Linked DNA regions of Homo sapiens: regions 2 and 3 are each linked to region 1. The links are contacts of gene promoters, found by promoter capture Hi-C in blood cells and fetal thymus (Javierre and others, 2016). All regions are on one chromosome and are shown on one strand. The core of a region is centred on a gene start or on the middle of the fragment in contact, and the rest is flanking DNA. Distances in the headings are between cores, read along the strand shown.

Region 1 (3,959 bases), core at 1,076-3,575:
TTACAGATACAGAAACCACACAAAGATTTGGTATCAAGAAATCACGAGGTACATAAACTCTAAGTAGTTGGAAAACACTGACACATAAATGTAAGCGGGGAGTGGCAGGGGCTATTGATGGAGGCAGGGCCCACCACTTTGGAAGCACTGAATACTCTACCAATATCTGAGGATGTGCATAGACTTTCTAGTTGCTGATAGGTTCTATAATCCTCAGGTCTTCTATGTTATCAACATATCCATCTACGCCACAATGGAATTCAATGTAGCTGAAGCTTCTGCTCTCTGTGTACCTATTGTTGTACTTCTCCCAGTGACACTCGAGTACTTTGAGGGCACCTGGGGCCCATACATATGCATTTCTATATCGGTCGCTCCCCTTCTCATTGATGCATGCACGCTGAATTTTGAACCATAAGCTATAGATGAACATATGAAAGCTCTTGCCTTTCAGAGCCTCTTTTTCTCTCATGAGGACATCACATTTGTACTCTTTGAATTCTCGACTTGGACTTAAGTAATGAAGTTTTATGAATTCTCTCCAGTAAATGTTGTTACTGTATACACACAGCCTGCAAAGGATGCAAAGCAGGGCCAAGAGTATGCCCCAAATCTTTAGAGAGGATGTCATCTCAGTCACCACGTCCACCTGCGTGTCTACAGGGAAGAGAAAGAAAAGCATTAACCAGACTATACTCAGAGAGCTGAGCTCCACCTTAAAATTCCTTTCCCTGCCAAGCAGGTACTTGGGCACTATATTGCTATTTGGTTCCATATTAGAAGATGATGATTCTCATTAAAGAATACAGTTTCTGGGCTGGGCACAGTGGCTTATACCCGTAATCCCAGCAGTTTGGGAGGCCAAGGTGGGTGTATCACCTGAGGTCAGGAGTTCGAGAAACACCGTGGCCAACATGGTGAAACCCCATCTCTACTAAAATACAAAAAGTAGCTGGACATGGTGGCTGTAGACCCAGCTACTCGAGAGGCTGAGGCAGGAGAATCGCTTGAACCTGGGAGGCGGAGGTTGCGGTGAGCCGACATCACACCTCTGCACTCCGGCCTGGGTGACAAAAGCAAAACTCCGTCTCAAAAAAAAAAAAAAAAAAGAATACAGTTTCTAAGAACTAAAAATATGCTTTAGCCTGTGAGAGCTAACACAAATTTGGAAAATATAGATAAAGTACCTTTTGAGAATTTCAAATATCTCCTGTCTACCCTGTCTTCTACCCAATTTGAGGAGCCAATCACTATCGAGCTCTCTTTTACCAAATAAGCTCTCAGGAGATCATGTGTCCAATAGAAAAATGACATTTTAAGCGTATTGTCTGCAAAGTGGAAAAGATTGTTGCATTTTAAGGGAATGTAGAAGATGAGTAACTACTTGGGAGGTGGTTCCTAGGCAGAAGGCATTGATTCTGGAAACCACAGCCCAGGCTGCAATTGCACTTCTCTGAAAAATGATGTTTTTCCAACCTTGACTTCCTTATAACACTTTCCCCAAAGTCTGGGTGAAACATGTGATCATTATTAACTATCGGCATCCCTTCTCAGAGGCCATTTCCCTAATTACTGCTATTACAAATGATCTTCATTTGTTAGAGCTTATTGACAATGCCATCATAAAAGGACATCAGTTTAGAACTGTTGCTGTAATCAATCAGGCACCAAAACTAAAACAGTCCCCCGCAGAGCTACTGTGGTCACAGCATAGGATGTATGGTCGTTTGAAAAAGTTATCTCTTTACCAGCTATCTGTCCTCATTTGCCATGAGGAGTATTCCTGGCCCTACTGAACCTCTAGCCTGATTCATAGCTCTGAGTATCGGTGTCCTCAGATAGGCCTAATCACAGCTCCCTACAGACCTGCAAGAGTCTAATGAGATGCAAGCATGTGAGAGCACTTCTAAAGATGTCAAATGCCCACATCAGGCACAGGGTTCCTCATCTGTGGAACCCTGTCCTGGTGATAAAGGCCTACACAAGATAGAAGAGTAGGATGCAAGCAGCTTTAATGCACTGTGCTTAGGAGGACTGGCGGTGAAGGAAGGGAGGGGCAGGGAAAAGCCTGTATCAGTGGGACTGAGGCTAACCAGAATTCAGACCTTTGTTTTCCATGATTTGGATCCTTCTCCATTGTTTGCTATCTAAAAGTTCAATCAGCCTCCTTCCAGTGTTCCTGGCTGTCCCCCGAGCAACCTCAGCAGAGCCCTTCTTACCCTACTTGGACTCTGAGTTCAGGTCACTGATTGTAGTGGGGATCAGCATGTGGATCTGAAGAGCAGAGTCTGCGTCCTCCTCCTTTTCTCAGAGCCCTGGAAATCTACAGCAGTGGAGAAAGGAATAGTAGGGGGAGCTGCAGGGCTCCAGCTGATTGGTAGCCGAGGTGGTGATGGGGAACAGCCTTATTATGTGAACTTGTCCCTGTATCGTTTCATCTGGAACACTTGGGCTCACTCAAACAGTAGCCTCGAGCAAAGGCTACAAACATCAAAGGCTGAGCCCTGGGTACAAAATGATTGCAAGACCCTAGGTGACCCCAGAAAAGGGTTATCTGGTGCTATCAGGAGACAACCAGAGACTTAGCTCTGCTCTCAATTCTAACAAACTTCTGGGGAAGTCCCTGGAGGGTTATGCTATGTTACATGGGAACTTCACTGAGGAAAGCCACCTTTTTTTTTTTTTTGAGATGGAGTCTCGCTCTGTTGCCCAGGCTGGAGTGCAGTGGCGAGATCTCGGCTCACTGCAAGCTCCGCCTCCCGGGTTCACCCCATTCTCTTGCCTCAACCTCCTGAGTAGCTGGGACTATAGGCGCCTGTCACCACGCCCAGCTAATTTTTTGTATTTTTAGTAGAGACGGGGTTTCACCGTGTTAGCCAGGATGGTCTCGATCTCCTGACCTCATGATCTGCCTGCCTCAGCCTCCCAAAGTGCTGGGATTACAGGTGTGACTCGCTGTGCCTGGTCTTTTGCCTTTTTTTTTTTTTTGACAGGGTCTTGCTCTGTCGCCCAGGCTGGAGTGCAGTCGCACAAACACTGCTCCCTGCAGTCTCAACCTGCCAGGCTCAAGCAATCCTCCCACCTCAGCCTCTTGAGTAGCTGGGACTATAGGCATGCAACACCATGCCTGGCTAGTTTTTTGTATTAATTTTTGTAGAGACAGGGTTTCACCATGTTGGCCAGGTTGGTCTTGAACTCCTGAGCCTAGCTAAGCCTCAACACATCAGCCTCTAAAAGTGCTGGGATTACAGGCATGAGCCACTTGGTCAGGCCAGAAAATCACTTTTAATGTTGTGAATTGTGAGACCTTCATTGAGAGGTGAAAGAATATCTAGTGAACACAGTGGCCAAATAGCTATGAATGATTAGGTAGCCAGTATCTGAAATTTCTCTACTCAGTTTTTTAATTATAACCTTTAGCTGTTTGGTGACACTGTACTGCTTACTATTAAAATGTCACATAGCCTGGCCATAGTTTCTACAATGCTACTATACGTAACATCTGACTGTGAAGTATAGGTCACAAGGTGCTGGCTAAGTTGTTTTTCAGGACCTCAAGATTCAGTCCTGAACTCAGCTCAAACTGACAAGACCACAACTTCTTCAACTGAGTTTGTGCAAGTGTTCAATGGTTACCTTTAACATCACAGCCGGAATTTTCCACCATATTTTCCATGCCAACTCCCCACAAATTGGCAAATGTGACCAATACTGGTTCATCAACACTAGTCAAAGTTACGATTTATGAATAAAGTAAGACTCTTGCAAATCTTTTCTAACAACACTTCCAAAGGCTGCTCCTAGCCAAACCACCTTAGTTGATTTTCTCACTGGGCCACCTTATTGTTGGAATGACAGAAGGTTCAGTTTATATCCAGAACTTATCTTCAAACCCCCACTCCTGTGAAGCAGTCCTTGAGTAATAGAAAATCATGTGCTGATAGACTGGATGGACGGGA
Region 2 (3,959 bases), core at 1,048-3,547, 120 kb before region 1:
ACTCAGTCACCCAGGCTGGAGTGCAGTGGCACAATCTCGGTTCACTGCAACCTTCGGTTCCTGGGTTCAAGCAACTCTCCTTCCTCAGCCTCCTGAGTAGCTGGGATTACAGGCATGCGCCACCACACCCAGCTAATTTTTGTATTTTTAGTAGAGACAGGGTTTCACCATGTTGGCCAGGCTGGTCTTGAATTCCTTACCTCAGGTGATCTGCCCTCCTCAGCCTCCCAAAGTGCTGGGATTACAGGTGTGAGCCACCGTGCCTGGCCAGGTCCACCTCTTGAGCCACACAGATCTGCTTCCCCAGACAGGTTCAAGAGACAACTCCTCCAGGCTTCCTACCAGTCTCTGTTCCTGAAGGGAAACTTAAGAGGAAGTTTACTGTGGACAAACAAACTGTAGTCACTGTCAATGCCGCAGATCTTGGGGCTGTAACTAGCACCCATCCACTCCTTCCTTTACTATGTATTCTAATCTCCCTTTACCCTTAGGTCTTAGTTGCTTATTCTTATTTACCCTCTCACCAGTTCTGAGGGTTAAGCCCTTGGTAATCATATTTTTCTCAGGCTGAGGTGGCTACACACTTACATTCACAGTTAAAATGGAGCATGGGAGTAACAGAAAGCACCCAAGTAGATTACTTGGGTTCTACATAAATTCTTTTCTGCCTCTATTGGGTAAAAGCAGCCCTACCTCCCTCCTGCTAATCAAGGTTACTTAGCCTTGACAGTATGGCAACTCCTCTTCACGTCTGCTGGTCCCTAGACACGAGAAATCCAAAGTGTCCTGGGAAAAGCTGTAGCTTGCAGTTCAATGAGACCTTTCTGTGTAAGTTGGCAAGGGTGCATCTTCTTTGGGGACCTGGACCTTTGACCCTGCAGAGCCTAGAGTTACAGAAATGAAAGCACAACATATCTGAGTGGGTCAATCAGAGAGATGGTAAGTGGAGCTACTCCTGCTTCTACTTCTCGGTTCCTGGATCCGTGTATTCTTCCTATTGGGAACACAGTACCCTTTACAGGCCTCTGATTTAATAAATACACTGCATCCTGAAGAATGATACCCCATACTTTCATAATGTTACCTCTTAGCTGCTGCTTCAGCTGTGTCTTTGGAAAGTCAGTTTCTCTTCTTTCCTCCCTCCCTCCTTTCTTTCTTCTACCCTCCTTTCTTCTTTTCTCTCTTTTCCGTTCCTTCCTTTCCTCATTTCTCTTTCTCTTTCTTCCTCCCTCCCTCCCTTCCTTTCTTTCCTTGAGCTGAAATGGCTTGCACCTTCCTTTTCCCACATAAACACCAATGGACTCTTCCCATTAGTCCTCTAGTTTCTTCCAGAGGTAGGTGAAATTATTGAAGAGACTTCAGCAGAAATTAGGGAAGATCTTCTGAACTGTGATTAAATGGAGTGTGGTCGTTTACCTAATTATCCTTGGTTATCACCTTCTGTGATTGTGATTTTACTTATTAAGCAGCAGAGCCATCTGGCGAAGACCTGCATTACTTTTTAATCTTATGCTTGCCTTTTGTCTTTCCCAGATTTGATAAATGGTTGGTCCTTATGATCCACTGATGCAGACTACTTGGGAGGTCCCAATGTCCTGGTGCCCAAAGGCAAGATCATTTTTCCCCCTGCAGTGTTTCTGTCTATCATGATGATGTGAGTGGGCTCTTATTGGGGGTGCCTAATGCTGCCATAAAGAAAGAGTTTTCTTGGCTTGGTGCAGTGGCTCACGCCTGTAATCCCAACACTTTGGGAGGCTGAGGCAGGCGGATCACGAGGTCAAGAGATCAAGACCAACCTGGCCAACATGGTGAAATCCTGTCTCTACTAAAAATATAAAAATTAGCTGGGCGTGGTGGCGTGCACCTGTTGTCCCAGCTACTCGGGAGGCTGAGACAGGAGAATTGCTTGAACCCGGGAAGTGGAGGTTGCAGTGAGCCGAGACTGCGCCACTGCACTCCAGCCTGGCGACAGAGCAAGACTCCATCTCAAAGAAAAAAAAAAGAAAAGGTTTTATCTTCTGAATTAAGCTGTATCCCTCTGAGCTAGTCAGGGAAATAGGCAATCTTTTTTTCTATGGCTCATAGATACTGGTATCACTGGTTATCACTTGTGATAAGTAAGCAACATCCTTCCTTCATAGATTTATAGCTCAGTGTTTGGCATATGCCCTATAATTATTATCACAAGCAAGGTGTGCAGAGGCAAAGTTTTCTAGGATACAAGCACCTGTCTGTTTTGTTCACCTCTCCCTATATGGCACTTAGCATAGTGCTTGTCATATCAAAGGCACTCAGAAATGTTAATTAAGTAAATATTAGTGATGGAAGAATGTCTTTCTATTGTCTTCACATATGAATAAAAAGGGGGCCAGGGGCAGTGGTTCATGCCTGTAATCCCAGCACTTTGAGAGGGTGAGGTGAGTGGATCACTTAAGTCCAGGAATTTGGGACCAGTCTGGGCAACATGGTGAAACCCCATCTCTACAAAAAATACAAAAATTAGCCGGGCGTAGTGGCACACGCCTGTAGTCCCGACTACTCAGGAGGGTGAGGTGGGAGGATCGCTTGAGCCTAGGAGGTGGAGGTCACAGTGAGCCGAGGTTGGGCTGCTGCACTCCAGCCTGGGAGACAGAGCCAGACCCTGTCTCAAAAAAAAAAAAAGTTAACTAGATAAAACATCCTTTGTTTCTGGATGTCCAAAGAGTTGTTTTTATTGTTTCACTGAAATGTCATGGATTAATATAGTCTGTATTCCTGTATTAGTAGCCTGCTATTACTACACAAAAACATTCGAATGCCTTCTCTTTTGCTGTATTTTAGACATTTTTCAAAAGCCTAGGTTTCTGTGTTGCTTTTGCTTATGCTGAGACTCGGTGATCTCCACCTGTTTCTAAAACCAGCTCCCTATCTCCTGCTGAAGAATGTTCCTTTTGTTCTTTGACTTTTGATTCTGTGTCTTGTGTTTTAAGGTTCAGTTTAGGAATCTCAGTATACTTTAGGTTGATTCCCTGGAATTCAAGTGAGATGCATTTTTTTCTTTTTTTGAGAAATTAATTAACAATTTATGCTAATGTGTGGATGTTTAAGTTCCTGGCATTTGACTGAGCTTTGTAATGTGTACTTTCTACACTGTGGAAAGAAGGAGTTCTAAAAATATATATATAGCCAGGTGCAGTGGCTCACGCCTCTAATCCCAGCACTTTGGGAGGCCGAGGCGGGTGGATCATTTGAGGTCAAGGGTTTGAGACCAGCCTGGCCAACATGGTGAAACCCCGTCTGTACTAAAAATACAAAAATAAGCCAGGCATGGTGGCAGGTGCCTGTAATCCCAGCTACTCGGGAGGCTGAGGCAGGAGAATCGCTTGAACCCAGGAGGTGGATGTTGCAGTGACCTGAGACTGTGCCATTGCACTCCAGCCTGGGCAACAAGAGTAAAACTCCATCTCAAAAAGAAAAAATATATATATTCTCAGAAAGAAAATATATCTATCTATCTATATAGATAGATAGATAGATTTCAAAATATGAATTTTTTTTTCCTATCAAGATAGAAGATCCTGTTAATAAATTTGGAGAACAATTAGATATTCAACAAGTAGACATTGTGCATTTCTACTTAATGGACATCTGTATTGCCAGAATGCCATTGAACATGATCCTGCTTTTAAAGTAGTGGTTGTCCAAGAAAGGAGTACGAGGCTGAGAAGATTCTCTTAGAGTGACAGAATTGCTAGATTGAACAAGTTGATTCAGAATAGGTTGCTATACGTCTCTCTTACGGCTTTCAAGGATTCAGCAGGCCATTCTGGACAAGATCTACAAGAAAACATAGGTGTTTCATTTTGAGTGATAACCAAAGGTTAAACCCAAAACCCTTAGGTTCAGGATTTCAAAGTATAGGCCATACTAAGAGAAAATATTTATGACACATATACACTTGATTAATGCAGCATTTACAT
Region 3 (3,959 bases), core at 408-2,907, 100 kb before region 1:
AATGAGGGAACTGTCAGTCTATCTTTCCTGCCCAGTCAAAAACTTCAATCATTGTCACTCCTACTAATTCAGAATGTAAACTTAACTGTTTCTTTTTTGAGACAGTTTTGCTCTGTCACCCAGGCTGGAGTGCAGTGACTCAATCTCGGCTCATCGCAGCCTCTGCCTCCCAGGTTCAAGCGATTCTTCTGCCTCAGCCTCCCGAGTAGCTGGGATTACAGGCGCATGCCACTATACCCGGTTAATTGTCATATTTTTAGTAGAGACAAGGTTTCACCATGTTGGCTAGGCTGGTCTCGAACTCCTGACCTCAGGTGATCCACTTGCCTTGGCCTCCCAAAGTGCTGGGATTACAGGCATGAGCCGCCGTGCCAGCCAAACTTACCTGTTAATTGTGACCTTTTCAGAAGCTATATTAAACTGGTAATAATAACAATATAATGATATCTATGGAGAGCTTACTATGTGCTCTGAATAGGGTGCCCATCTAATTTACTGTCTGAACTGTGATACTTTTGAGAGTGAGAAGGAATACTACTAGTAATTAAGCCAGGACAGCAGCATACATAGAGCAGATCCTGGGCAAACTGGGACATATGGTTTCATAGCTGGGAACTTAAATCAATAATTATTTCATTATTCAGGCAAATAAGGCTGCAACTCTGATCACTGAGCTGGCTGAACTGTTCTAGATGCTTTACCTGGGTTATTTTATTTAGTTCACACAATAACCCTTTGAATAAGGTGCTTTAATTTACAGATAAAGAAACAAATTACAGAAGATCAAAAATCACTTATCTTTAAAATACTAAATCAGGACTTTTGTCTGTAAATCTGTACTCATCCAGAAAAATATCAGTCAGTATTACAGGAAAGATTAAAAAGGTGAACCGACTCTACACCCCTCTTTAAATCCACCCCCAATATACATATACATTTCAGTTATTCTTTATTATTGTTTTGTGAGTTATCCAGCTTGTCTGTTTTACAGATCACGGAGCTGGGGCCAGGTACGGTGGCTCATGCCTTTAATCCCAGAACTTTGGGAGGCCGAGGCGGGCGGATTGCCTGAGCTCAGGAGTTTGAGACCAGCTTGGGCGACACGGTGAAACCCTGTCTCTACTAAAAATACAAAAAAATTAGCCGGGCGTGGCAACGTATGCCTGTAGCCCCAGCTACTCGGGAGGCTGAGGCAGGAGAATTACTTGAAGCCTGGAGGTGGAGGTTGCAGTGAGCCGAGATCACACCACTGGACTGAAGCCTGGGCGACAGAGCGAGACTCCGTCTCAAAAAGAAAAACAAGAAATTACAGTTGTGATATACGTTGAATTACTTAAGAAATATTCTGGCCGGGCACGGTGGCTCACGCCTGTAATCCCAGCACTTTGGGAGGCCGAGGCGGGTGGATCACGAGGTCAGGAGATCGAGACCATCCTGGCTAACACGGTGAAACCCCGTCTCTACTAAAAATACAAAAAAAAATTAGCCGGGTGTGGTGGCGGGCGCCTGTAGTCCCAGCTACTGGGGAGGCTGAGGCAGGAGAATGGCGTGAACCTGGGAGGCGGAGCTTGCAGTGAGCCCAGATCGCGCCACTGCACTCCAGCCTGGGCGACAGAGCGAGACTCCGTCTCAAAAAAAAAAAAAAAAAAAAAGAAATATTCTGAGAGATGAATGTCATATTTTAATATGTGTAATGAATCTGAATACAGTAGCTGTGATTTAATGCACAGGAAGTGAGCCCTCTCAGTGACAGGTCACAGGTCATTCCGTACCAGTTATCTTTCCCCATGATCCAGACAACACAGGTGATGCACACATTCTCCGAACCCTGTTTCAGAACAAGTCTGAGGCAAAGGGGGATAGTGACTTAAGTTCCAGTTGTAGAAGTAGGTTCCATTGCTGAAAGGACCTTCCTCTTCTGTTCATATTCTTGGTCAACTTCCTTGTTTCTTGGCTGCGTCCGTTTCCATTTTGGTACCTACTTCCCTTCCTTTCTACCATTCTTTTTTTTTCTTTCTTTTTGAAGAGACAGAGTCTCACTCTGTCGCCCAGGCTCAAATGCGGGGGCATGATCTCAGCTCACTGCAACCTTCACCTCCCGGGTTCACTCAATTCTCTTGCCTTGCCTCCTGAGTAGCTGGGATTACAGATGCCTGCCACCACACCGGGCTACTTTTTGTATTTTTAGTAGAGATGAGGTTTCACCGTGTTGGCCAGGCTGGTCTCAAACTCCTGACCTCAGGCGATCCATCCACCTTGGCTTCCCAAAATGCTGGGATTATAGGCGTGAGCCACTGTGCCTGGCCTCCAACATTCTTATAGGTAGGACATTCTCCTGTACCTTTGCCTGTGAGCTGGATCCCATCTTTGCCCAGTTCCTGAGACTGTGCTGTATCTGTGCCCTGTATTTCCAGTGTCTTCTGTACTGACTCCTTAGGATATGGACAATCTCATGTCACCTTCTACGCAGCCTTCCGAAACTACTTACCAGTTGGCTCCTTCTCTTCATTGCCAAGCTCCTTGTTGACTCTGTTCCTTTAGCTCTAATATTCTCTTCAGCTGGAAAAAGGACGCTCTGAAACTACTGTAGCAAAGAATCCATGACCTCCTGATTTTCACATCTAATCATCTAATAAAATCTTTACTTCTTAAGCATTTTTTAAAAATTATAAGGTACATTATATAACACACACACACACAGTCACGCACACGTACCAGAGTGCCAAAATCATACATGTAGGCAAAGTTTAAAGAATATCTATGAGGCAGACACCCTTTTGACTTCTGCCAAGGTCAGAAACAGAACAATGGCAGTATTTCTGAAGCTCTCAACCATGTGCTCTTTCCTGACCACGGCACTTTCTTTCCCTCCAGAAAAAAAAAAAATTATGCTTGAGATAACAATTTCCTTTCTTCTTTTTATAATTATATCACTTATGTATCCGTCTCTAACCATTACAGTTTAATTTCACCTGTTCTTGAATGCTATATAAATAGAATCTCATTGTATATATATTTTTTGTGACTGAACTACCTTATGTTTATTCAATCCATTTATGTTGCTACAAGGGATATATTTTGTTCAATTTTATTGCCCTAAAGGATTCTAAAGCATGACTATGCTGCAATTTTTATCATTTCTATCTTTTCATTCTCCAGAGTTCTGAATTCTTACATTTTTGAAGTATTTCTTGTAAACATCATAGAGTTAGATTTTCCTCCATCAGTGTTGTGTTTTAACTGGACCATTTATATTTATTGCAATTATTCATCTCCATCTTCCTCAGTGTACATCTATCATCTATTTAGTCTTTTCTATTTGTCTCGTTTGTTTGGTATTTCTTTTTCGTCTCCTGTTTTCCCTTCTTTTGGATTAGTTGTGTATTTCTATATCACTCCATAAAAGCCATTAAGGCTAATCACAGGTGTTTAGTTCTCTTGTTCCAGGCACTTAGAAGGATCCTACTTCTTTGTCCCTTGTACTTAGATGTGACTACGTGACTTTCTGTGGTCAATTATGTGTGAGTAGAAGTCATGTATGTCCCTTCTTGCAGCAGGATCAAGAGTTGGCCTGCAGGTTACCATGCTTTCTTCCCTTTGCCTCTGTTACTGTGGAATTGTGTGTCAGGATGAAGCCTGTGTCAGCCTGTGTTCCCAAGTGACTATGGTAGGGAGAACCCCTTTGCTGGACCATGATGGACGTGTAGGAGAAATGAGTAATAAATCTTATGCCACTGACATTTTGAGGTTCTTTGTTACTGCAGCACAAGTAAGCCTATTCTAACTGATTCACATTTCACTTATTCTCTCTGCTAGTTTGGAATGTATACACGGTGTCTCTATTCCTTTAATTGTTTATCCTAGAAATTTCAGCATGCATACTAAACATATAAAAATCTATTATATTTTAAAAATCTAATTATTTTAAATATTAATTTTAAATAAAAATCTAATTCATA

Evidence for each region. Contacts are between HindIII fragments. The CHiCAGO score rates a contact against its expected background, and 5 or more counts as called.
Region 2: a contact is called between a fragment that was not itself captured here and the fragment with the promoter of EDDM3A in region 1, in 13 of 17 cell types (M2 macrophages, naive B cells, M0 macrophages and 10 more). The highest score is 15.9, in M2 macrophages.
Region 3: a fragment that was not itself captured here is called in contact with the fragment with the promoter of EDDM3A in region 1 in 4 of 17 cell types (M0 macrophages, M1 macrophages, M2 macrophages and 1 more); the score reaches 5.9 in M0 macrophages.

The regions. Positions count from the first base shown.
Region 1 is chr14:20,744,253-20,748,211 of GRCh38, reverse strand. It overlaps EDDM3A (epididymal protein 3A), which reads right to left and starts at 2,325. Exons shown (of 2, transcript NM_006683.5): 1 at 2,220-2,325; 2 at 1-657. The coding sequence starts at 631. The coding sequence ends at 188. All of the region lies in intron 2 of LOC107984671 (a long non-coding RNA gene), which reads left to right. The HindIII fragment of the contact is 4,056 bases long and covers 278-3,959 here.
Region 2 is chr14:20,868,031-20,871,989 of GRCh38, reverse strand. It overlaps LOC100507513 (a long non-coding RNA gene), which reads left to right. Exons shown (of 4, transcript XR_110261.4): 4 at 1,534-1,755. Among named protein-coding and RNA genes, the nearest start is that of RNASE3, 21 kb to the left of the region's middle. The HindIII fragment of the contact is 5,154 bases long and covers 1-3,959 here.
Region 3 is chr14:20,844,687-20,848,645 of GRCh38, reverse strand. No RefSeq gene overlaps it. Among named protein-coding and RNA genes, the nearest start is that of RNASE1, 44 kb to the right of the region's middle. The HindIII fragment of the contact is 8,402 bases long and covers 1-3,959 here.